Linked DNA regions of Homo sapiens: regions 2, 3, 4, 5, 6 and 7 are each linked to region 1. Evidence: promoter capture Hi-C in 16 types of primary human blood cells and fetal thymus (Javierre and others, 2016). All regions are on one chromosome and are shown on one strand. The core of a region is centred on a gene start or on the middle of the fragment in contact, and the rest is flanking DNA. Distances in the headings are between cores, read along the strand shown. Region 1 holds the start of ZSCAN30 (zinc finger and SCAN domain containing 30). Region 2 overlaps DTNA (dystrobrevin alpha). Region 3 has its middle 76 kb from the start of MAPRE2. Region 4 overlaps GALNT1 (polypeptide N-acetylgalactosaminyltransferase 1). Region 5 has its middle 46 kb from the start of MAPRE2. Region 6 overlaps GALNT1 (polypeptide N-acetylgalactosaminyltransferase 1). Region 7 has its middle 27 kb from the start of MAPRE2.

Region 1 (2,984 bases), core at 283-2,782:
TCATAAGAAATAATGTGGTTTAAGAAGTCTGATGTTTTAGGTCACTAAATTTTGGGGTTCTTTATTCTGGAGTAATACATAGATACAAATCTCAAAATAACTTCAAGGTATGAAGTACTATGCACTTGAAAAGTGAGGAAACAGAATCGTAAAATATATGAGTAACTTACTGGAGCCAGTTAAGTGACAAAACTACTGTTTGAATCTAGGTTGTCAGACTCCAGAACTTTTAACTATGCCCCTACAGTAGATAAGAAAAATGACCAAAACTGACAGATTAGCAATGAGGTCATTATACAGGGAAAAATGAATGACTTTGGGGTCTTAAAAAAGTGGAGAGAGCTGCATGAGAATTTGATCGCCAGATTTTGAAATAAAGTCATGTGACTATGCTTGGTACACTAAAGAGGTAATACTGCCTAACAGAGTTAAGGGGGATCATTTGAAGACACTAGCATAGAGTGACACCCCCTCATCCTCCCCACCCCGCCAAAGCCACTAAGAAAGATATAATACCCTGCCTCTCACCTGACAGAAGGTGGTGTTCCTGAGATTCATAATTGAACTGGATCTCCATGGGCTGCAACTGGACACCTCAGTGTGCAAGTGGAGAATTACCATTTCCTCTGTAAGCTTTTCTTGTCCACATAAAGGTCTGGGACCTGGAGGCAACTGGGCACCACTGGGCTTGGAAGGGAATCATTGTGCTGACTACAGATGTAATCTCTGAGACTAGACCACCAGAAAAATCCTCAAGATATAAAAGAAGGAGAAAACAAAAAATCTCATTTGACTTCCAGTTGCTTTTCTCTCAGAATGTATTAGGCTTCCTCCCCATCATCCAAGAGCCAGGGATTAACCCACTTAAGACACACATTCCCCATTCCAAGTCTAGAGATGTTCAAACAAAATTAGGGGTTAATGCTACCAAAAAAAGGTATAACTGGAAAGATAACGCAGAGAGGGGAATTTTACAGTGAATTCTAGTGGTTAACACTATGTTATTCGCTGCCCTTCCTATCCAAAAATGACACTACTGATCATTTTTCTTCCTTTTGCTTTTACAACATTCACAAATTCAGGTGGCTCTTTCCCAGTACGGTAGGCTGATTCGTATGGATGCACCACGGTTGGTGACTCCCCCCACCCCACAGAGTTTCTGGCGTTCATTCGGTTGAACCCAAGGCCAGCAAGGGCTGACTGGGAACAAACCGAACACTAGGCCGTGAACCAATCGTCTCTCCGTGCCCGGGAGCGACCCCGGGGGCCTTCACTCTCCAAGGACTCGAGAAACCATGCACAGTTTCCTGCTCGTTAGGCAAGATCACCCGGAACTCCTCTGCTATCCGCGAGCCGACATCACCCTTACCTCGACTTGGTCACCGGACCGCTGTGAAGCCTCACACCCGGCGAACCTGCCATCGCCCTGTCCGCTCTAGGAATCTGGGAGGAGTGCTCAGCTCTATGGCGCTTCACCGCGCAGGCGCAGGGCGGGGGTGGGGCACCGGGTGACGGAGGGCTGCCGAGAATTAACCCCCGAACCGCCGCGAGCTGTCCCTAGCAGTGCCTTAGCCAGGGACCTGCTTGGCCAGCGACAGATCCTTTGCTGCTCTGTCTGCCGGTTCTTGAGGTGAATGTCGGAATCCATTATCTTTCGGGAAAGCTCTCTGGGGCAGGGTAGGTTTTCTTACTACATACAAGTTCTTAATTAGTTATCGTTTTTTAAATAACCACCCCTCCCCCTATCGCTTATCTGATTCGTAGGTATGCTTTAATTCTAACTTTCTTCCTGTCCTCTCTGGTTTTTCACACCCCCAGAAGAGTAGCGCGCATCAGAATCACCTGGAGGCCTTGTTAAAATACTGACTTCTGCCCCACAACTCCGGAGTTGCTGATTTAGTAGTGGGGGAGGGGGCGGTGGCAGCCCAGGTTCTCAGGTGATCCTGAAGCTGTTGGTCCTGGGACCACATTTTGAGAACCACTGCCCAAGAAATAAGTGATGCTCAGTAATTAATCCCTGAATTAACGGAAAGTTGGATTTTTATCTACTTTGCAATCTAGAAAGGGTACGAGGTCTATTTAAGGTTTGCTTGCTAGAACAATTCTCACTGATCAGGGTGAGAAGGACCCGAAATGGAGGGTGCGGGGTAATCAGGGTAGGAAAGGATATTGCTGTGTTCATGGAAATATCTTGGGAAATGAGGAGTTGGGACCTCATTTCTGTTGAGACCAATGAGACGTGTGACTTGGTTTAAGCTGTCCGGTGGGGAAAGGAAGAGGTTTGAGAAAATGGTGGGTGGCTAAGTGGTAGTTGAGGTGGAGGAAGAGGGCTTCCTGTCCCAGCCCAAGTCCCTGTTGGGATATATGAAATTTAGGGATGTATGACTAAGCCCTTAATATAACCGTAAGAGGAAAGAGATGTGGGAACTTGAGTCCAACCCTCCCAAGTAGGGAGTGCAGATAGTTTTAAAAAAACAGCTTTCTTTTTGGCCAGGCGCAGCTTAGGCCTGTAATCCTAAAACTTTGGGAGGTTGAGGCAGGTGGATCACCTGAGATCAGGAGTTGGAGACCAGCCTGGCCAACAAGGTGAAACCCTGTCTCTACTACAAATACAAAAATTAGCTGGGCATGGTGGTGTGCGCCTTTAATCCCAGCTACTTGGGAGGCCGAGTCAGGAGAATCGCGTGAACCCATGAACCCAGGAGGCGGAGGTTGCAGTGAGCCGAGATTGCGCCACTGCACTCCAGCCTGGGTGACAAAGCGAGACTTTGTCTCAAAACAAAACAAAACAAAACAAAACAAAACAGCTTTATTGAGGTATAACTGACATAAACAGCAAATATTTAAAGGATATAATTTGATAAGGCTTGTTAAATGAATACAGCTGTGGAACTATCACTGCAATCAAAATAATATGTTTATTACATCTAAACCCCAAAAGTTTCCTCCTGCCCGTTGGTAAGCCTCTCTCCCAATGCCCCCTC
Region 2 (2,984 bases), core at 192-2,691, 420 kb after region 1:
GGGCATGGGAATTGGCCTGCTGATGGTGTGGCTGGGGGAGGAGCGGGGAGAGCCTGCCCCCTGAGTCTGGAGAGACAATGCAGGTCATTAATTTGCTTTCCCAAGAAAATGTCATATGTCATCCCCAATGCCTCAGTTGATTGTTGAAAACAGTGACAATGAAATTTCAAAGCAGGAGGAAATCCTAGGTAATTGTGTTGGTAATCCTAAAGCTAATTTGCAGGTGCAGATAATTTAGGACCTTATTGTATGTAATCTGAAGTTTGGGTTAAATATTGAAAGCTAAAACTATTAGTACAGCATTGCTCTACAGTATATGGGACATGTGCCCATAAAATGAAGGTACTGTTAAATGCAGATAATTACAAGGTGTGGATACTTTCTCCTTGAAGGAAGGTCTCCGAGGACTAAGAAGACATTAAGGAGAAAGTTTAAAATACAAACTAGAAGACTATTTGCAATGGATGCTTTCTGAATTTTCAACCTGACTGTACTAGCATTATCTTTAGAGGATAAGAGTTTAAATCATGTCATACAATATTGTGCATATTAAGTCTCAAATTAAGAATCAAATGAAGTGTAAATTGTTTTATCCCTATTTTATAGTAAAAGCTGATTTTGTCAAATTAGTAACTCAGGGATTCCAATGGGGAAGAAGAAGAAGAAGAAACCTTGTTTTCTAATTTTTTGGTATTATTTCCTGCAGGAAATGTCCTTCTCTTCTCCTATGAAAAAGCAGTATTCTAGCAGGACAATAAGAATAGTAGGATTTAAAGACAAGTAAAGAAAAAAGTAGAAAACAACTGAAGGAACTTATCTTTGCACTACAGTTTTTGGCATGAAACTATTCTGAGACTGTCACACTTTGAATCTTAAGGATTTGTCTCTAAATGAGGTGCCTTGGAAATATTCTCCCTGTTTTAATAATTAGTTGACAAAAGAAGTCAGCCACATGCGTAAGAAAATGCAAGGAGACCCTTGAGTGCATACACAACAGATTAGGTGTTCACATCAATTCCATCCCAGTCTGTTTGCTGTGGTTGCTAGAGTGAGAATTCTTCTCCAGCAAGGCCCAGAGAGTCATCATTAACCCATTCAAACTCCTAGATGTATACCACCAGAGCAATGCTCTGGAATATTCCATTTAGATATTTGCTTTGGGCTCAGTGGCTTGTGGTTAAAACACACCACATCAATCCTGAAAAATGCCATGCTGTTAGCTCTCCAGGCTCAGCATCACGCATAATTGTTAAAGCCATAAACTGAGAAAAACCCAGAATTAAAAATGAAGCAAAACAGAACAGAGCACAGAAAATAACCCATGGGGTGCCCAATGGGCTGAGGGTCCCATTCTTTCACTCTCAACAGTACCTTGTAATGGTCTGTCCAGGCCCAAGGAAGAGAACTTTGCCCGGTTGTGATGTTTTTGCAGCCTGCTTCCCTCGGCCTGCTCAAGGAGGGGTCTAGTTTTCCCCAGCAAACTCTGGCAGCTCAGCCCCATTACCTTGAAACCTTCTGCTTCTGAGCTACCACTGCATCCTTGACCTTCCCATGCCAATAATAAATAATTTCACATTTGCGTTGTGCCTTATGATGTTCAAAGGGTTTTCACATACACTCTCACTGATTTCTCTCCATGACCCTGGGAAGTATGCATTCTTACTCTAAATGTGAAGTTGTGGAGCCCAGTACTCAGAGAGGTGAAAATAATTGCTTTATCTGGAGACGGAGTCAGAGGGGCAGGGCTGGGGCTGAGCCCAGGGGCTCTGAGTGCCCTGGGCTGCGGGAGCCTTGCTGGCCATGGCTGGCAAAAAGTCCCTCAATGGAGACAGACGCTGGTCAGATGCCCTGAGCTCTTCCTACTTTGGCAATTCCTCTTGTACACCCTTTTTAAGGCAGAGGCCTTAGCAAGGCTCCTGAGCCTCTTGTCTCTGTCCTCTTTATCAAGGGACCAAACACAGCCGGGAGTGGGGACTAGAGAAGGGAAGTTGGACAGAGTGGTTATTAAGAAGTAGGATTCTCTTGGCTATCAGTGTGGGTTACCGTCTCATCCCTGGGAACTCAGATTGTCTTCCATGGTGAGAAGTTCACAATAATAATATAACTCCACTTTTGTAAGTAATTCAATGTACAAAGCACTTTTACATACACTGTTTTGTTTCATTTTCCTAGTACAGTGGTACAAGTGGTAATATCTTATATTTGAATAGCAATTTGCAGTCCATAAAGCACTTTAACCCCTAATACTTCATGTAATCCTCTTAATAACCATATGAAGTATTATTATTCCCATTTTATATATTAGCAAACTGAGGCTAAGAGGAGATAACTGGATTACCCAAGGTTTCTGAGCAAGAGAATGGCAGAGATAAAATTGATCCCCAGTCTTTAGACTCCAAGCTCAGGGTTTGCCATGCTGAGTCTAAGGACTGTGGGCACTGTGACCAGCCATCATACGCTTCCATCTATGCTTCACTACTATAGAAAGGTTCAGCAGCCTGAAGAGGGAAAAGACACAGGGCACAGACCCAGTAGGACCACCTTGTGGTGCTGGAGCAGCGTCCTAGGGCTTCCTGCTACTGGGCCAGGCAATACCTTTTAGTTGCTGGATCATGGAAAAGATGTATGGGTGCTCAGGGTGATGGGAGGGCCTTGGACTGTTTATCAATTGGTACAGAAGTACAGGCCTACAATCTCTTATTTGCAATTCTGAAAGCCAAAAAAGCTCTGACAAACACTGGTCATTCCATAATGAATTTGGTCTTAATGGATGTGAGGTAACTGATACGATATCTGCATCATATTGCTTTTCAAAATCAGATAAATGCCAAATTCTGGAACATATCTGGATCTAGTGATTTGAGATATGGGGCTATGGACCATATTTCACTACTTTAATGTCTGTTCTGGGGCTGTAGTGCACACCAGCCTTGCTTATACCTCTTATACCAGGTTCTCCAGGGTGCTGGGGGCTCCTCCCTCTA
Region 3 (2,984 bases), core at 316-2,815, 320 kb after region 1:
GTGATTGGCATTTCCAGTTGGGGGTAGTTTTGTTGGAGTGAGCCCTTAACCTGTGGGATCTGATGCTATTTCTAGGTAGGTAGTGTGAGAATTGAGTTAAATTGTAGGACATCCAGTTGGAGTCTGCTGGAGAATTGCTTGGTGTGTGGAGAAGCCCACTCCCCAACATTTTGGTAACCAAAATTGTGAGAGAGTCAACTTTGTAAGAGAAGAGAAAGTGTTTGCTTTTCCCTTATACTTACTAAGCACTTGCAGATAATTTACCAGTATAATTTCAGGCTTCATACAATTTTATTTCTAATATTTATCTCATAAATATGGTTTTATGCCAAATATATATTTATTTAAATTTGGAATTTTCTTATGTTTTGTGGCATTTTATTATTTAAAATTTCCAGCACTTATGCTGTGATTTCCTTATAAAATTGGAATTTATTTTAGTGTAGGAATGTCTCTTTCTCCACTAGAATATGGGGCCCAAGATGACAAGAATTTTTGTCTTTTAGTTTACTGGTCTGTCTCCAGGGCGTAGAACTGTGTCTGAGATATGACAGATGATAATTAAATACTTTTGAATGAACAAATGAATACATAAATAAATAAAAGAATAGATTCATAAATATATCCTGATTTGAATTTTTTTCCTGTTGTTTTAATCCAAATCATCTTTACCACGTTGTATTATTTCTCCGTAATTTAGTGACTCTGTTTTTTAGAAACACTATGTAACATAAATTTATTGTAAGATAGTAACTTTCACACATTCAAGTTTCAGTCATTCAGCATGTAGGAGAAAATGTCCTTCTAAGCTTCTTTTAGCTAACAGACATCCTGAAGACAATAAACATCTTATATGAGTCTCCAAACAAGAGGTAGGAAAGTTAAGATTAGTCTGAAAAGTAAAATGCATCATTCGTAAGAAAGAGTTTTCTTTAGAATATGGAAAATAAGATTTAAAAGGAAGGCATAAAATGCAGTACATAACAATAATAGAACAAGAGACATTAAAATGAATTTCTTAAAGGCAATGAATATCTGTACCGGTGAAGTGCTAATCATACGCTACATTTCAAGGCGTTGCTAAGATAGCATTTAACCACATCCACAAATTAATTCTTGCCATTAGAGTATTAACATTTCACAAAATGTTTTTCTCCCGTCTAAATTCTGGGAAGAGCAACTGGGAAAAAAGCCACTTAATTGTCTCAGAGAAATCTAGCTGCTGTGAGCTGTATGTTGGCTCTGGGGATATGGATCAGGATTTCTGTAAATGAGGATAATGGATAGAGAACAATATCTGCAGTGATGGGAGAGTTGGGCCCTGAAACTCCCAAATCAACTGTGCTTTGGAGGAACACTCACATGCTACCATGTGTTTCCTTTGTTCTCCAAGAACATCCATTCTGTTCATCACTCACAAGCACACATTTAGTTTTGTCTCATAACTGGGAGTATGAGTAAATATAGAATACAAAATATGTTCTTACTGAGATACCAAACAGGTATATTCATAACTCCTCCTTTCCTTTTATTTTCTTTGTTGATTTTCTTTCTTACAAGAATCTTACAAGATTAAACAAATTTTAGACAAGTCACAAACATTACTATGTTAGTTTAATACAAATGCATGTTTATAATAGCAATGACAACATAGGAACAGGGATCAGGAGTCCATGTCACTGCCACAGAAACCTTTATGATGGTTGCAGATCTTTGTGATTATCTCCAGAACAGTGATATGTTTTGATGCCAGGTCAGACTCTGGCTAAAGGCCAAGTTAGCAACATGCTCTTTTATTCATAATGAGCTCTAGCTTGCATGAAGTGGAACCAAGTGCGACACTTTTGATCCTGGCTTCTAGAAACCTCAGATTCCAGAAACAGTGTCTGACTGGCTTTTTCAAATCAGGAGAGAGCACTGTGTAGTTAAAGAAAAAGAAATCATCAAAAAGCCCAGAAACAGTCAACTAGTTAAACAGATTGTAGTTCAGTTATGTGATGGATTATTTGGTAGCTGCTGAAAAAAATCAGCAGTTAAATATATTTAGGTATTTACGTTAAAGATACTTAGGGGCATGGAAAAATGATCACTTTAATATATTACGGGACAAAAACAAGATTCCAAGGTTTTGAATCTGATATATGCAGTGTGATGTCATTTGAGTAAAGTAAGTTCCCATATGTTTTCATACATGTAAAAGTAAGTAAATAGATAAAGTTGAATAAAACATTTTAAAATGGTGATATTCCTGATTATAGGGGATTTCTATTTTTTTCTTTTTATACTTTTCCCTTTTTTTTTTTTTTTTTACGGAAGCTTACTGTGTCTCCCAGGCTGGAGTGCAGTGTCACAATCTCACGATCTCGGCTTACCGCAACCCCCACCTCCTGGGTTCAAGCGATTCTCCTGCCTCAGCCTCCCGAGTAGCTGGGACTACAGGCACGCACCATCACGCCCAGATAATTTTTGTATTTTTGTAGAGACAGGGTTTTGCCATGTTGGCCAGGCTGGTCTCGAACTCCTGACCTCAGGTGATCCACCTGCCTTGGCCTCCCAAAGTTTTAGTAGACATTTTTATTGGCTTTTGTGTGTCAAAAATAAATCAGTCTCTCTCTTTGTATATGTAGTTGTGTGTATGTGTGTGTGTGTGTGTGTTTGGCCTGTGGTGCTGACGCCAAACAACTGGGCACCACTGCCTAGCCAAGTTGACTAGTAAAATTAACCATCACACTTTTCAAGCATTCATTTTTACATTCTTTTTTTTTAGTAATAAGAAAATTTTTCAGTTTTCCCTGTTCGGTCCCTATACATTTCATGTACATTTTCACTTTCCTAAAAACGGTTACAATTCAGGTGAACTGAGATGACTTAGATGACCTTAGCAGATGAATATTACAATTTTTACTTAGAGGCCGGGTGCAGTGGCTCACGCCTGTAATCCCAACACTTTGGGAGGCCGAGGCGGGTGAATCGCCTGAGGTCAG
Region 4 (2,984 bases), core at 166-2,665, 330 kb before region 1:
ATTCCCCAGAGCTCAGTGCCATACTTTTCCTCCTGTATAACTGGATCATCTGTGAGGAGAAAAAGAAGAAAAAAAATCTCAAAGGACAGTAGTACCCTTAGATGAAATTCTTTTTTTTACATTTGTAAGCATGAAGGTTCTTTTGAGAATTGCTTTCCTTAATACACTGTCTGATGTTACTAGGTTACTAACTTAAGCGACCTTTTGAGATCTAAAAAGTTTTCAGATTTGCTCAACAGAACAAATAAAAACCAAAACTTGAGTTAGGGGTAGATTTTAGATTTTTGGCCCTAATAATAGCCTGAAATATTTAGTTACCATTGAAAAAACAAAACAAAACATATATTAGCATGTTACAGAAAGACAGTGTTCTGGTTAGTCACAAATTCTACCTTACAGATTTATCGCAGGTACCACACACTGCAAAACAACCATACCCTTCCTTTTTTCCTTAACTAATCAGTAATTTGGCATATCGGTTTTTAAGTTGCTGTGTTTTCTAACTTGGTTTCTCTCTTACTAGTCTCTCCCTAATGTCATTTAACGTCTCTTAGTTTATAGCGTTAGTGATTGTTTTGCATTCTTGCCTGCTGATTTTCCTGTGAAAAGCTATTCTCTGCCTCCCTCCCTCAACTCGGTCTGCCCTGTAGTCTCAGGCTGCTTCTGCATTGCTATCAGTTAAGATCCATTCTAGGGGATGACCTCAAGCGCCTTTTCTTCATATTTGTTTCAGCTCTTTGGAGGGCTGATTATAGGATTTGCTTCCTGCTCTCAGAACAAACAAACAAACAAAAACAGTGCAGTACAATTAAGTTGACATTTTACTTAACAATGTAATAGGAAAGTTAAGTAAATTGTTGGAAAAAAAAAACTCTGAAATAAACCTGCTATTTAATTCACATCAATAACTCAAACATTTCTTTTGTATTATTTTTTAAAATTCTAATTCTCAAAACTATTCTACTAAAACCTCTAATCACTTGGGTTATCTCTCCTTTTCTTTTAAATACACTAAACAGTTACACATGTTTGTCTTTATTACCCATAATGCAACTAAAAGATAAATTTTTTGCAGATGTCATTTCTCCACTTGAGCTTTAGAGAATTTAAGAATTAAGTTCATCCATGAGCAGTCTTTTTCAAACACACATTACAGTCTAGTCTCAAGCTTCCTTCTTGAGACCCTAACCATAAATTCAAGAGGAATAACTAAAATTTTTTAAAGATGTATTTAAACTAAACATACCAAAGAATATATACTTTTTAATGAATACAAGATTATTTTACAGGTTTAGACTACATTTAATGTAAATAATGTTAATTATGAATGAAAATGATGTAAAATTATTTTCCTAATGGTACTGCACATAATGCTATCTCATTGCACAAGAAAAATCAGAGCAGTTAACAGTTTTGCATTTTGCTGTGCTGTTAACTGCAGTAGTGCTCTCTATACATGTTAAGTGCTTGGCTATCAAAAAAAAAAAAAAAGAACAGCAAAGCAGTCTTAAAAGATGAAACCTTTATCTGCTAGAGCAAAGTTTATGGTTTCATTATAAAGAACCCTAATCTGAAGAGTTATCGAAAAGAAAAGAAGAAGAGAAAGGGAGAGAAATAATTTTTAAAATAGGTATTGTTTTTATTTTTTTAAGGAAAGCTTTTTTAAAAAAACTAAATGTGCTATGTTGATCTTGTTTTGAGTTTTGAATCTACAAATCAACTTAAAAAGACACTTTAGGGACCACTGAGGAAATATGATTATGAACTGGGTTACAGATGCTACTAAGCAATCACTGTTAATTAGGAATGTTAACAGCATTGTGGTCATATTCAAAATGTTCTCATTTTAAAGGATCTATACTGAAGAATGTTAGAGGTAAAATGACATGATGTCTTCCATTGCTTTAAAATACTTGGGCTTAAGAGCAGGGGAGTGAGGTTAGATTGAGAGGTGGAACACAAGTGGGAAAATGTGTTTGCTGAATCTGGAGAATGGATACAGGTTTAAGAGGGCTCGTTTCACTGTTCTGTCTACTTTTATATATGTTAGAATTTCTCGAAATATGATGTTAAAACAAAGAAGTAACTTTTAAACGTGTTTCAGATAGCTAAACGCTAAATTAGGATTTAACATCTTACTTTGGATTTAACATCTTACTTTGGCAGGCCAAATACTGCATACACTGGTGTTCTGTGAACAAAAGCAAGGCATATAGTAGACATTTGTTCACTTAACAAATTTGTTAACTGCCCTACTATATGCCAAGCATTTTACCAGACCATATGAGAACAAAGATGAGTTAGACAACATCACTGTCCTTAGGGAGGAAATGGTCAATATAAATACCTGTAATAAATGATTCTTGGTGGTGTGAGAGAAGAGTCTAGAGAACAGTAGCCACAGACAGGAAATGGAGGGGGGAGCTGTCTGAATGCCTGCAATGCGCCGCTTGCATTACATTCACCCGTCACTGCTGCTCAAATGGGGAAGGAACTACTCATAAAGTTTTGTTTGTTTTCATACCACACCTCACTCTGGCATAAATGAGTCAGGATCTATGGTTACAGGGTTCCTCAGTGGCTTAGGCATTAGAGAGAGAATTTTATCCTAATAACAACCCTTTCAAGTGGGTTTTATCTTCATTTTCAGCTGAGGAAGCTGAAGAGTCAGAAGTTTGAGGGGTGGACCATACTAGAGGACTGGAAGGTCTGAGAAGTCACAGAATTTGAAGAGTGGTGCCAATACAAAGGAGGAGAGAGCTCTGAAAAAGGAGTCTGAGACGATGCTAACTGCCACAGAGAAAGATTACGTGACACTGGAAGCTGTTTCTGCCAAGTATTCAGCAAGCTACCATGAATGTGGAGATTAAAACACAACACTAAAACACTAGAAGGTTTTACAACCTGTGCTAAGCAAAAGGAATCAAACATTACTCAAGACTTCAGGTGAGGATATGCAAGCCTTAGTACTTCTCATTAGCCAT
Region 5 (2,984 bases), core at 126-2,625, 290 kb after region 1:
TTTCAGACCTCTGAAGACTTCGTATACAAGGTTTCTATTCTTTCATTTGTTCAACATATTAGCCACTTATGAGTAGCTACAGTACATCAGGGGCTCTGGTGCATCAGCTCATTTACTCCTCCCAATAACCCTATAAGAGGTGTTATTCTTTATCCCATCTCATAGATGTATGAACTGAAGCTTCCAACCCATGTTTGTTGTACTTTGAAGCTGGGACTCTTGAGTACCACCATACACACCTATTAGATTCCAGGTACCATGTTGGGTGCTGGGATTCTAAGGGTGAACAAGACACAGAACAGCCACCCAGGACTTAAGTCTAGTTGGGTAACCACTTAAGCTCTGCCTCCTGTCAGATCAGCTGCAGCATTAGATTCTCATAGGAGTGCGAACACTATTGTGAACCGTGCACATGAGGGATCTAGGTTGCCCGCTGCTTATGAAAATCTAATGCTTGATGATCTGAGGTGGAACAGTTTCATCCCGAAACCATCCCTCATCCTCCACCCTACCCCCAGTCTATGGAAAAATTGTCTTCCACAAAACTGGTCCCTGGTGCCAAAAAGGTTTAGGACCGCCGAGGTAATAAACACAAAATAATCATATCACAGGGCTGTGAAGGCAATGATATTGACAGCAGGGGTGGAAAAATTCCTGACTGCTGTTTTCTTGGGGAGCATATAGAGTTTGAAGATCATTTGTTTTTCTCATTCTGAAAATTAGAGGAAAACAAGCATTTTAACTATCAGGTTCATCTGTGACAGCGCTTTCCTGACTTTATGAATCACCTGGGAATTTTGTTACAATGCAGGTTATGATTCAGTACGTCTAGCCGTTGAGGGGTGTGAGAATCCGCCTTTCTAAAATCTTCTAGGTGATGCTGCTGGTCTAAAGACCACACCTTGAGTTGCAAGGCACACACACACACTCTCTGTGCTTCAGGCTCTTTCTAGAATCTGCTATGGTGACAGATTAACATGCGCTTGGTAAAGGAGCCATTCACTCACATGATCCCAACTGAGATAAACTAATGTATAGCTTAGACCTTACTACCAAACAATGGACACAAACATATAGCTTAGACCTTACCCCCAAGCAAGCAAAACTAAGGATGTGAAGTCCATCCTTGGTGCACACCACTTTTTTCTTGCTCCTCCTTCCTGCAATTATTCCTAGCCCCCAGTGGTAACATACTCACCCAGAGTTCCAGGTTCTTAGGGAAGTTCTCCCCTTTTGAAGATGATATGTATTTAATTGATTAACTAGTTTGTGCAAATGCATTAGAGAGTGTTTTAACAAAAATTTGTTATTTTTTCCTCTGCTGACTCAAATGGCTGTCTCTGGATCTTGTTACATGAGCACCCTCAGTGAAGCCACTGTTATTTTCTTGTGTAGGCAATTGGATCAGATGAAGCTGCCACACATATATCCAGTGTGCTTGAGAGATAGGAAGATGCTTGGAAGTCCTGCCAAATTCTGTGACTAGCAAACAATGAGCTAAAAAACTTAAAAACTGCATTACTTGATTCCACAACTGTATACCATACTGGGACCATTATTCTGCCTAAAAGTGTCAGGCTCAAAATGAATTTGAGATTGCCCATACTTTATAATAACATTCCTCTCTTGGTGCACTTGCATTTTCAAACTGAGGGAAAAGAAGCGCCCACTGATGCTAGAATATCAGGAGTCCTCACCTACAGGGAGATGTGTCCAGAAAATGTATTTACCTAAGTTTTTAAAACCCAATGCATGTTTCTATGGAAATATGAGTTGGTTAGAGGTTAACATACTGGTATAAGTTAATACTTTTATGGGTTAAAGGGATCTTTGAGGGCTACCCTGAGAATTCAACTATCATTTGTAAAGCTGCCTGGTATAAAGAGCATTGGGACTTGGGGTATCATCCCCTGGGTTTGAGGTTTTCCCAATTATGTGACTTTGGGCATGCCACTTAAACTCTGGGACCCAGTTTTTACAGTTTTCTGTAAAGTACAGCTCCTTAAAGAGCTGCTGTTACATATAAAAATTCTTTAGCAACTATAAATTTCTATGTACATGGAAAATACTTATTAAATTTATCATTATTATTATTGAATTTGAAAATATCTCCTGATTATAGGGATATAAAATATTACAATAGAATTAAATCTAGGGAAAACTAACAGCTTAAACAGAATGGGAGGGAATACCTATCTTCAGGGATCATGTGGATGCGGCCTCGATGAAAAGGGCCCCAAGAAATCCTTGGAACAGGACCTTCTCTGGCCTTTCTGGCCCTGCCAAGGCCTTTTTTGCTGCCTCTTCTGTAATACATGACCTTGGCAGCCCCAGTTTGACCATCATTTCTCTAAGGTTGGCAGCCTAGGAAAAGAAAAAAAAAAGCAAAAAACAGAAGCCAAAAAACAAAACTATTTTTTGACCACAACTGAGACTTCTTCTGTTAGCTTAATGTTGAATAGTGCTCATAAGATTGTTGTACAGATTACGTGTTTTGTAGCTATCACTTCATCTAACAAGTGCTTAATATCTTTATTTCCTTCAAATTTTTTGGAGCCTAGAGAAGCTTGTTTTTCTTCTTTCTTGCCCCTCCCCATCCCACATGGTTTCCTTTTTCATTCCCCATGGGGACAGCAAATGTCTCCCCATCCTCCCAGTTAGTACAATGTACTGGAGAGCCAGGAAGCAGCTCAGATGATCTGCAAAGCAATGTCAAAAGCAAATGATGTGCTATAAACATTTAAAACTTTGCAATTACTAGTGGTTTCAGTAAAAAAAAAAAAAAAAAAAAAGAAAATCCATGCCTCAGTTTTTCCTCTATAAAATGGCATTAAATGAGATCATCTCCAAGGTTGCTCTCAGCTCTAAAACACTAGGATTCATTTAATTTGTTATTCGACATAAATAATGAAGGGCATATATTTCAAGAATTATGTACTGATTTTGTGAGACCCTCTCTGTCAACCCTCTGATTATGCCAGACA
Region 6 (2,984 bases), core at 328-2,827, 290 kb before region 1:
CATTAGAAAATGAACAAAAGATAGTTCCCTGAAGAAAATATACAGTTGACAAATAAGCACATGAGAAGTGTTCAACATCATTAGCCTTTAAGGAAATGCACGTTAAAACCACAATGAGACATCCCTATACACCTATCAGAATGGCTAAATGGTGACAGGCCAGGCGTGGTGCCTCATGCCTGTAATCCCGGCACTTTGGGATGTTCCAGCCATGCTAGAACATTTTACAAAACAGCTCACCAGTTTTTTAAAAAACTAAACATGCAACTGCCACACAACCCAGTAAGTGTACTCCTGGGCATATATCCCAGAGAAATAAAGACTCTGTTCACACAAAAACCTATACACAAAAGCTTACAGCAGCTTTATTCACAATAGCCAAAAACTAGAAACAACCAGATGTTCAACAGGTAAATGGTTAAAAGATCCGTAAAAGTACATTCATACTATGGAATATTACTTAGCAATGAAAAGGGAGTAATTACTGATACATGCAACAACCTGGATCAATCTCCAGAGAATTATGCTGAGTGAATAAAGCCAATTCCAAAAGACACTTATCCCATTTATAAAACATTCTTAAAATGGCAAAATTACAGAAATGAACAAATTAGTAATTGTCAGAGTTTAAGGAGGGGGTGGAGGTAGAAGGGTAGTAGGTGTGGCTACAAAAAAACATAAGGAAATCTTGTGGCCATGAAAATTTTCTCTATCTTGACTGTTTCAATGTGACTATTACAGGTCTGGAAATTGTACTATAGCTTTACAAAATGATACCATTGGAAGCAACCAGGTAACTGAGGACTAAATGAGGACACACAGATATAAATGTAAACTGTTATCCCTACCCTTAAACACCATACACTCAAGAGGCATAAATCAACAGTGAATAACTTCATCAAGGAGAAAGACCTTGAGCAAATCTATGAAAAACAGGTAGCACTTCCACAAGTGGAGGTGGAGAAGGGGACATCTTGGGAAGGAGAAGAAATCACATAAAAAGGTACAGAGCCAGAAATAAGCAAAGTGCCTATGAAGAAAGAGGCATGTGTCGGGGGTTGTGAAATAACATAAAAATGGGATAAGAAATGTGGAGGGTAACTCTGAAGGGTCCCCAAAAGTCAGGTGCAGGAGTTTAAATGTTACATACCCAGAGAAGCCGTCCTCCCCAACCCAGCCAACCTGAAGTTCCCCCACCTACAATCTCTCCAGCATCCTTTACTGCTAATGTGTAGCAATAATCACAAATTGTATTTATGTACTTATTTGCATGTTTATTTAATGCTATCCACCCCCAGTTATCTTGAGACTACAGCACTGGGTGTGGCACACATTAATCGCTCCATACAGGGGTCCCCAACCCCCAAGCCATGAACCAGTACCAGTCTGTGGCCTGTTAGAAACCTGGCCACACAGCAGGAGGTGAGCAGTGGGCAAGCGAGCATTACTGCCTGAGCTCCACCTCCTTCCGGTCAGATCACCAGCGGCATTAAATTCTCATAGGGCAAACACTACTGTGAATTTTACATATGAGGGATCTAGGTTGCACAAGACTTATGAGAATCTAATGCCTGATGATCTGAGGTGTAACGGTTTCATCCCGAAACCATTCCCCTGGCCCCCAACCTGGTCCACGGAAAAACTGTCTTCCACAAAACTGGTCCCTGGTGCCAGAGAGACTGGGACTGCTGAGTCAATAAATATTAATTGAATAAATGAACAAACAGTAAGTAGTCACTCCTAACTCTCTTCTACGAAGTTGCCGCACTCCTCTTCCTCCATTATCTGTCACTCCCTTTGCCTTGGTCCCTCTTTGCCTAACTGCCTCTTTTAACTGATCTCTCCTCTTTCCTTCCTCCTCTACCTCAGCCCAGCTCTTAACCCATCAAAAAATAAAACTTGGTATATAACTGCAATGGTATAACACTCTTCTGCATCTCAACCAATTAGGAACTGTATCCAAGAAATCTGTTACTGAAAAAAAAGTACCAAAGTTGTATGTTACATAAGCATGACAGATGTATTACATAAATAAATAAGTAAAAGCAGAAACAGCGTCAACCTGATTGTGACCTTTCATGAGAATGAGTATGGAAAGCTGTCCATCAAAGAAAGCCAGGACAGTATTCCTCAAAACTACCAAAGTTATGGAAAACCAGACAAGACAGAAACTATCACAAACCAAATATTAAAGAAACATGATGTCAAAATACAATGTAGTACACTGGACTGGATTCTGGAACAGAAAGAAGATATTAACGGAAAAACTGGTGAAATCCAAATAATGTCTGGAATTTAGCTACCTAAAAAAATACAAAATTTTTTAAAAACTATATGAAGCACTAATGTGTGATTCAGATTCAAAATTATTATTATATTAGTTAAAAGAGGGATAGGGCATGCAAGTGAGCCAGGAGCAAAACTCCAGTCAGAGTAGCTGGAGCGTCCCACTGAAAGTTACAAACAGATCTATCTTCATTTTGACTCTGGTCCCATGCTCTCTCACCTGATGTCATGAGAATTACCTTGCCTGTAACTGCTTGGGATTAACAATCAGTTTTGTTGTTGTTGGGTTTTCAGTTTTTTGAGACAGGGTCTCGCGCTGTCACTCTGGAATAGCTAGGACTACAGACGCATGCCACCACACCCAGCTAACAACCACGCTTAAGTATCCTAGCACACTCATTCGTTTATCCAACAAGCATTTATACCAAGTGCTTATTGCTTACCAGGCACTGTAAAGTCTTCAGTGATACATGGCTGGAAAAGGAAGCCACAATCTCTGCTCTCATAAAGCTTAAACTCTATTGAGAAAGCCAGGCATTTAACAAGTATTTGCATAAATGGTGAGTGCTCCCAAGAGTTTTGCAGTCTGCTGCTTAAGAGGCACCAAACAAACCAGCAGAGCAGTCATTAAACGCAGTTATCACCAGCACGCTGAACAAAGGCTTCTCAGGTTTCAAAGTGCACACAAATAACTTGAA
Region 7 (2,984 bases), core at 196-2,695, 280 kb after region 1:
TACTAGAGTGCAGAAGGAAGGGGGCAAGGGTTGAAAAATTATTGGGTACTTTTCTTAGTACCCAAGTGGCAGGATCAGTTATACCCAAAACGTCAGCATCGTGCAATATACCCAGGTAATAAAACTGCATGTGTACCCCAAGAATCTAAAATAAAAGTAGAAATGTAAAAAGTAGCATTTGATTTTAGTTAGTGTTTCTGCAATTTATTGGGGTTTGTTCTGAATTTTTGTTCATGATCTGACAACTGTAGAAAGGAAAAAATTCTTCCCAACCAGGGCTTAAAGGCAAAAATACACACACACACACACACACACACACACACACACACACACACACACTGCCATCCCTATACACACCCACCAACTGTGTAAAATTATGTGAATGAGGACTAGAAGGAAAATAAAACGTGATTCGTTAGGGTAGATAACAAATTTGCATTCACACCCGCTTGGGTCCTAATCTTGGCTCTACCACTTACTAACTATATGCCTTGAACAAGTCAGTAACCTCTCTGAAACAATTTCCTCATTTGTAAAAAGCAACAACGAAGTTTCATGTAGAACATATGAGGATAAGTTGCTAGCAGAGTATCTGGTACACCGTAGGCATCAAATAAAGTTTATTCTCCCACATGTTTTCCCCTATATACAGGGGTCTGGTGTTCAGGTATTACACAGTTTAGGAAATGAAGGTGAATCCACTTTGGCTTGGTGGACTGTTTACAGGTCTTGCTCCTTCCCCTGTACTCAACCTCACCAGGACCAGAATCCCTAGGCTATCACCAACTTGTTGATGGCAGGACTTGTTATTCTTAGTGACTCTCTGGCCAGGAAAGTAAAGTCAGAAAGTGAAGGGGGGTAGAGGAAACACATTTCTTGTTTAGGGGTCTGAATATATACAAGCATTCTAGGCATTGGCCTGTGAGACAGCAGTAGCATTCTTTCCATATACCACAGCCTACTTGTACAGAAAATTTTGATAAGACATGTCAACCTCAGAGTAATTTTAGTGACATTTTGGCTAGCAAAAATGACTGTTACTTAACTAGATCCTGGTACTCCATGCAAAAGGCAAAAATCTATGGCAATGCCATGGATTTACAACGTGGTAAAGGTGCACTAAGCATAGTGTAGATGTATTTGTATATGCAACACAGTGCTTGTCCCTGGGGCCACAGTACCCTTAAAAGGGAATACAAGTTTGTGAGGGGGGATGTAACACCATCAAACTGCTCAGTAAGTTGTTCTAAGTTTCACTCTGATCAATGATCAATTGATAATTAAGGTTGGTCCCCAATAATCTCTGTAGTCAACAGAGGGCCCTGGAGAGTTAGTTACAATCTCTGTACCAATAACAAACTCATTATAAACCAAACAATTTGCAACTCTTAACCCAGTCATTTGGCTCTTACAACATTGTAAAGAGAAAGAAATAAAGCATTAGTCCATTTAAAAATAAATGTGTCACCCTCATGATCAATTTTCACGTTTCCCCAAAGAAGAGCTTTTATACAATTTTTATCTGCCAGGTATATATGCCTTATATAGACTGCCGAGACCTGCTGGGACCAAAAAAAAAAAAAAAATCACCCTGCCCGGGAGACTAGCACAACTGTAAACTGATGGCCTCCAAACCCAGTGGATCTCAATGCTTCTAAATCACCCTTCTGTTTCCCTAGTTTGGGTTCCGTCATTATTCATAAACCAGATGTTTCAATACTTTTTCCGTGTCCTTATATCTCCGACCCTACCACCTTCTCTTCCCTTAGCAGATGGCCTTGCATCTGACTTTATAGAAGGTATTGAAGCCATTAGACCAGAATTTAACTTTTCTGTCCCCAAACCTACATATTTACCTAAAGGATTGCCATCTTATTCGGATTCTTGCTTGTTGCAATAAAGGGCTATGGTCTCCCCTCTTGCCTCCTGCCTTTTCAAAGCCCTGGTATATTTAAATCAGAAAGTAAATCATTATGTCAAAGAGACATCTGTACCCCCATGTTTATTGTGGCATTGTTTACAATAGTCAAGATATTAAATCAAACTAGGTGTCCAATAACAGATGAATGAATAAAGAAAATGTAGTATATACACACAATGCCATGAAAAAGAACAAAATCTGGTCTTTCACAGCAACATGGATGGAACTGGAGGTCATTATATTAAGTGAGATAAGCCAGGAGCAGAAAGTTGAACACTGCATATTCTCACTAATACGTGAAAGCTATTACTAAACAAAAGTTGATTTCATAGAAGTAAAAAGTAGAAGACAGGATACTAGAGGCTGGGAAGGGTTGGGGGAAGGAAAGGATAGGGAGAGATTTGTTAAAGGATACAAAATTACAGCTAGACAGGAGGGATAGGTTCTAGTGTTCTATACCATTGTAGGTTGACTATTGTTGACAATAACATATAGTTTCAAATAGCTAGAATGAAAATATTAAATGTTCCTAACAGAAAGAAATTATAAATATTTTACATGATGGATATGCTAAGTACCCTGATATAATTACTTACATTATACATATCAAAACATCACTATGTACCCCATGAATATGTACAAGAACTATTTGTCAATTAACAAAATTAAAAAGCTCTAGTTTGTAACTTTCTACCAGTTTCTCCTATGCCTTGTCCACTGGCTGCCTCCAGGCAGTGTTTAAATCACTCAGGTCTCTTCTACCTTAAATCAACTCTTCTTCCCCACAGGTCCTGCTTTCTGTCTCCATCTTTATAGTCAGTATCTTAAGGGTTATCTAAACCTGCCCTTTCCACTTCTCAATTTCTCCCTTCCTCCTCAACTTCTTGCATCTGGCTCCCATTCTGAACATGACATTGAAATTATTCTCACCAAGATCACTAACAACCTCTTTGTTGCTAAAGCAATAGGCATTTTTAGTGTTTATTATTTTATATAACCTTTATGGGCATGTGGATTTCCTGACCCTGCTATTCTTGAAATGCTATTTTCCCTTGGCTTCCAT

The links. Contacts are between HindIII fragments. The CHiCAGO score rates a contact against its expected background, and 5 or more counts as called.
Region 2: a fragment that was not itself captured here is called in contact with the fragment with the promoter of ZSCAN30 in region 1 in 1 of 17 cell types (activated CD4 T cells); the score reaches 5.0 in activated CD4 T cells.
Region 3: a fragment that was not itself captured here is called in contact with the fragment with the promoter of ZSCAN30 in region 1 in 2 of 17 cell types (activated CD4 T cells and fetal thymus); the score reaches 5.7 in activated CD4 T cells.
Region 4: a fragment that was not itself captured here is called in contact with the fragment with the promoter of ZSCAN30 in region 1 in 5 of 17 cell types (total B cells, erythroblasts, total CD8 T cells and 2 more); the score reaches 6.8 in total B cells.
Region 5: a contact is called between a fragment that was not itself captured here and the fragment with the promoter of ZSCAN30 in region 1, in 8 of 17 cell types (activated CD4 T cells, fetal thymus, naive B cells and 5 more). The highest score is 7.3, in activated CD4 T cells.
Region 6: a contact is called between a fragment that was not itself captured here and the fragment with the promoter of ZSCAN30 in region 1, in 3 of 17 cell types (total B cells, activated CD4 T cells and total CD8 T cells). The highest score is 6.2, in total B cells.
Region 7: a contact is called between a fragment that was not itself captured here and the fragment with the promoter of ZSCAN30 in region 1, in 3 of 17 cell types (naive CD8 T cells, total B cells and total CD4 T cells). The highest score is 6.6, in naive CD8 T cells.

The regions. Positions count from the first base shown.
Region 1 is chr18:35,288,777-35,291,760 of GRCh38, reverse strand. It overlaps ZSCAN30 (zinc finger and SCAN domain containing 30), which reads left to right and starts at 1,532. Exons shown (of 4, transcript NM_001112734.4): 1 at 1,532-1,677. It also overlaps the pseudogene ZNF271P. RefSeq lists an enhancer at 1,256-1,415. The HindIII fragment of the contact is 2,453 bases long and covers 636-2,984 here.
Region 2 is chr18:34,872,321-34,875,304 of GRCh38, reverse strand. DTNA (dystrobrevin alpha) reads right to left here. Exons shown (of 23, transcript NM_001386795.1): 18 at 1-66. Among named protein-coding and RNA genes, the nearest start is that of DTNA-AS1, 110 kb to the right of the region's middle. The HindIII fragment of the contact is 7,635 bases long and covers 1-2,984 here.
Region 3 is chr18:34,964,093-34,967,076 of GRCh38, reverse strand. No RefSeq gene overlaps it. Among named protein-coding and RNA genes, the nearest start is that of MAPRE2, 76 kb to the left of the region's middle. The HindIII fragment of the contact is 1,507 bases long and covers 812-2,318 here.
Region 4 is chr18:35,616,543-35,619,526 of GRCh38, reverse strand. All of the region lies in intron 1 of GALNT1 (polypeptide N-acetylgalactosaminyltransferase 1), which reads right to left. Among named protein-coding and RNA genes, the nearest start is that of MIR3975, 26 kb to the right of the region's middle. The HindIII fragment of the contact is 489 bases long and covers 1,171-1,659 here.
Region 5 is chr18:34,993,801-34,996,784 of GRCh38, reverse strand. It overlaps a transcript of MAPRE2 not described here. Among named protein-coding and RNA genes, the nearest start is that of MAPRE2, 46 kb to the left of the region's middle. The HindIII fragment of the contact is 2,386 bases long and covers 183-2,568 here.
Region 6 is chr18:35,583,297-35,586,280 of GRCh38, reverse strand. All of the region lies in intron 1 of GALNT1 (polypeptide N-acetylgalactosaminyltransferase 1), which reads right to left. Among named protein-coding and RNA genes, the nearest start is that of GALNT1, 3.0 kb to the right of the region's middle. The HindIII fragment of the contact is 2,443 bases long and covers 356-2,798 here.
Region 7 is chr18:35,012,989-35,015,972 of GRCh38, reverse strand. It overlaps a transcript of MAPRE2 not described here. Among named protein-coding and RNA genes, the nearest start is that of MAPRE2, 27 kb to the left of the region's middle. The HindIII fragment of the contact is 7,024 bases long and covers 1-2,984 here.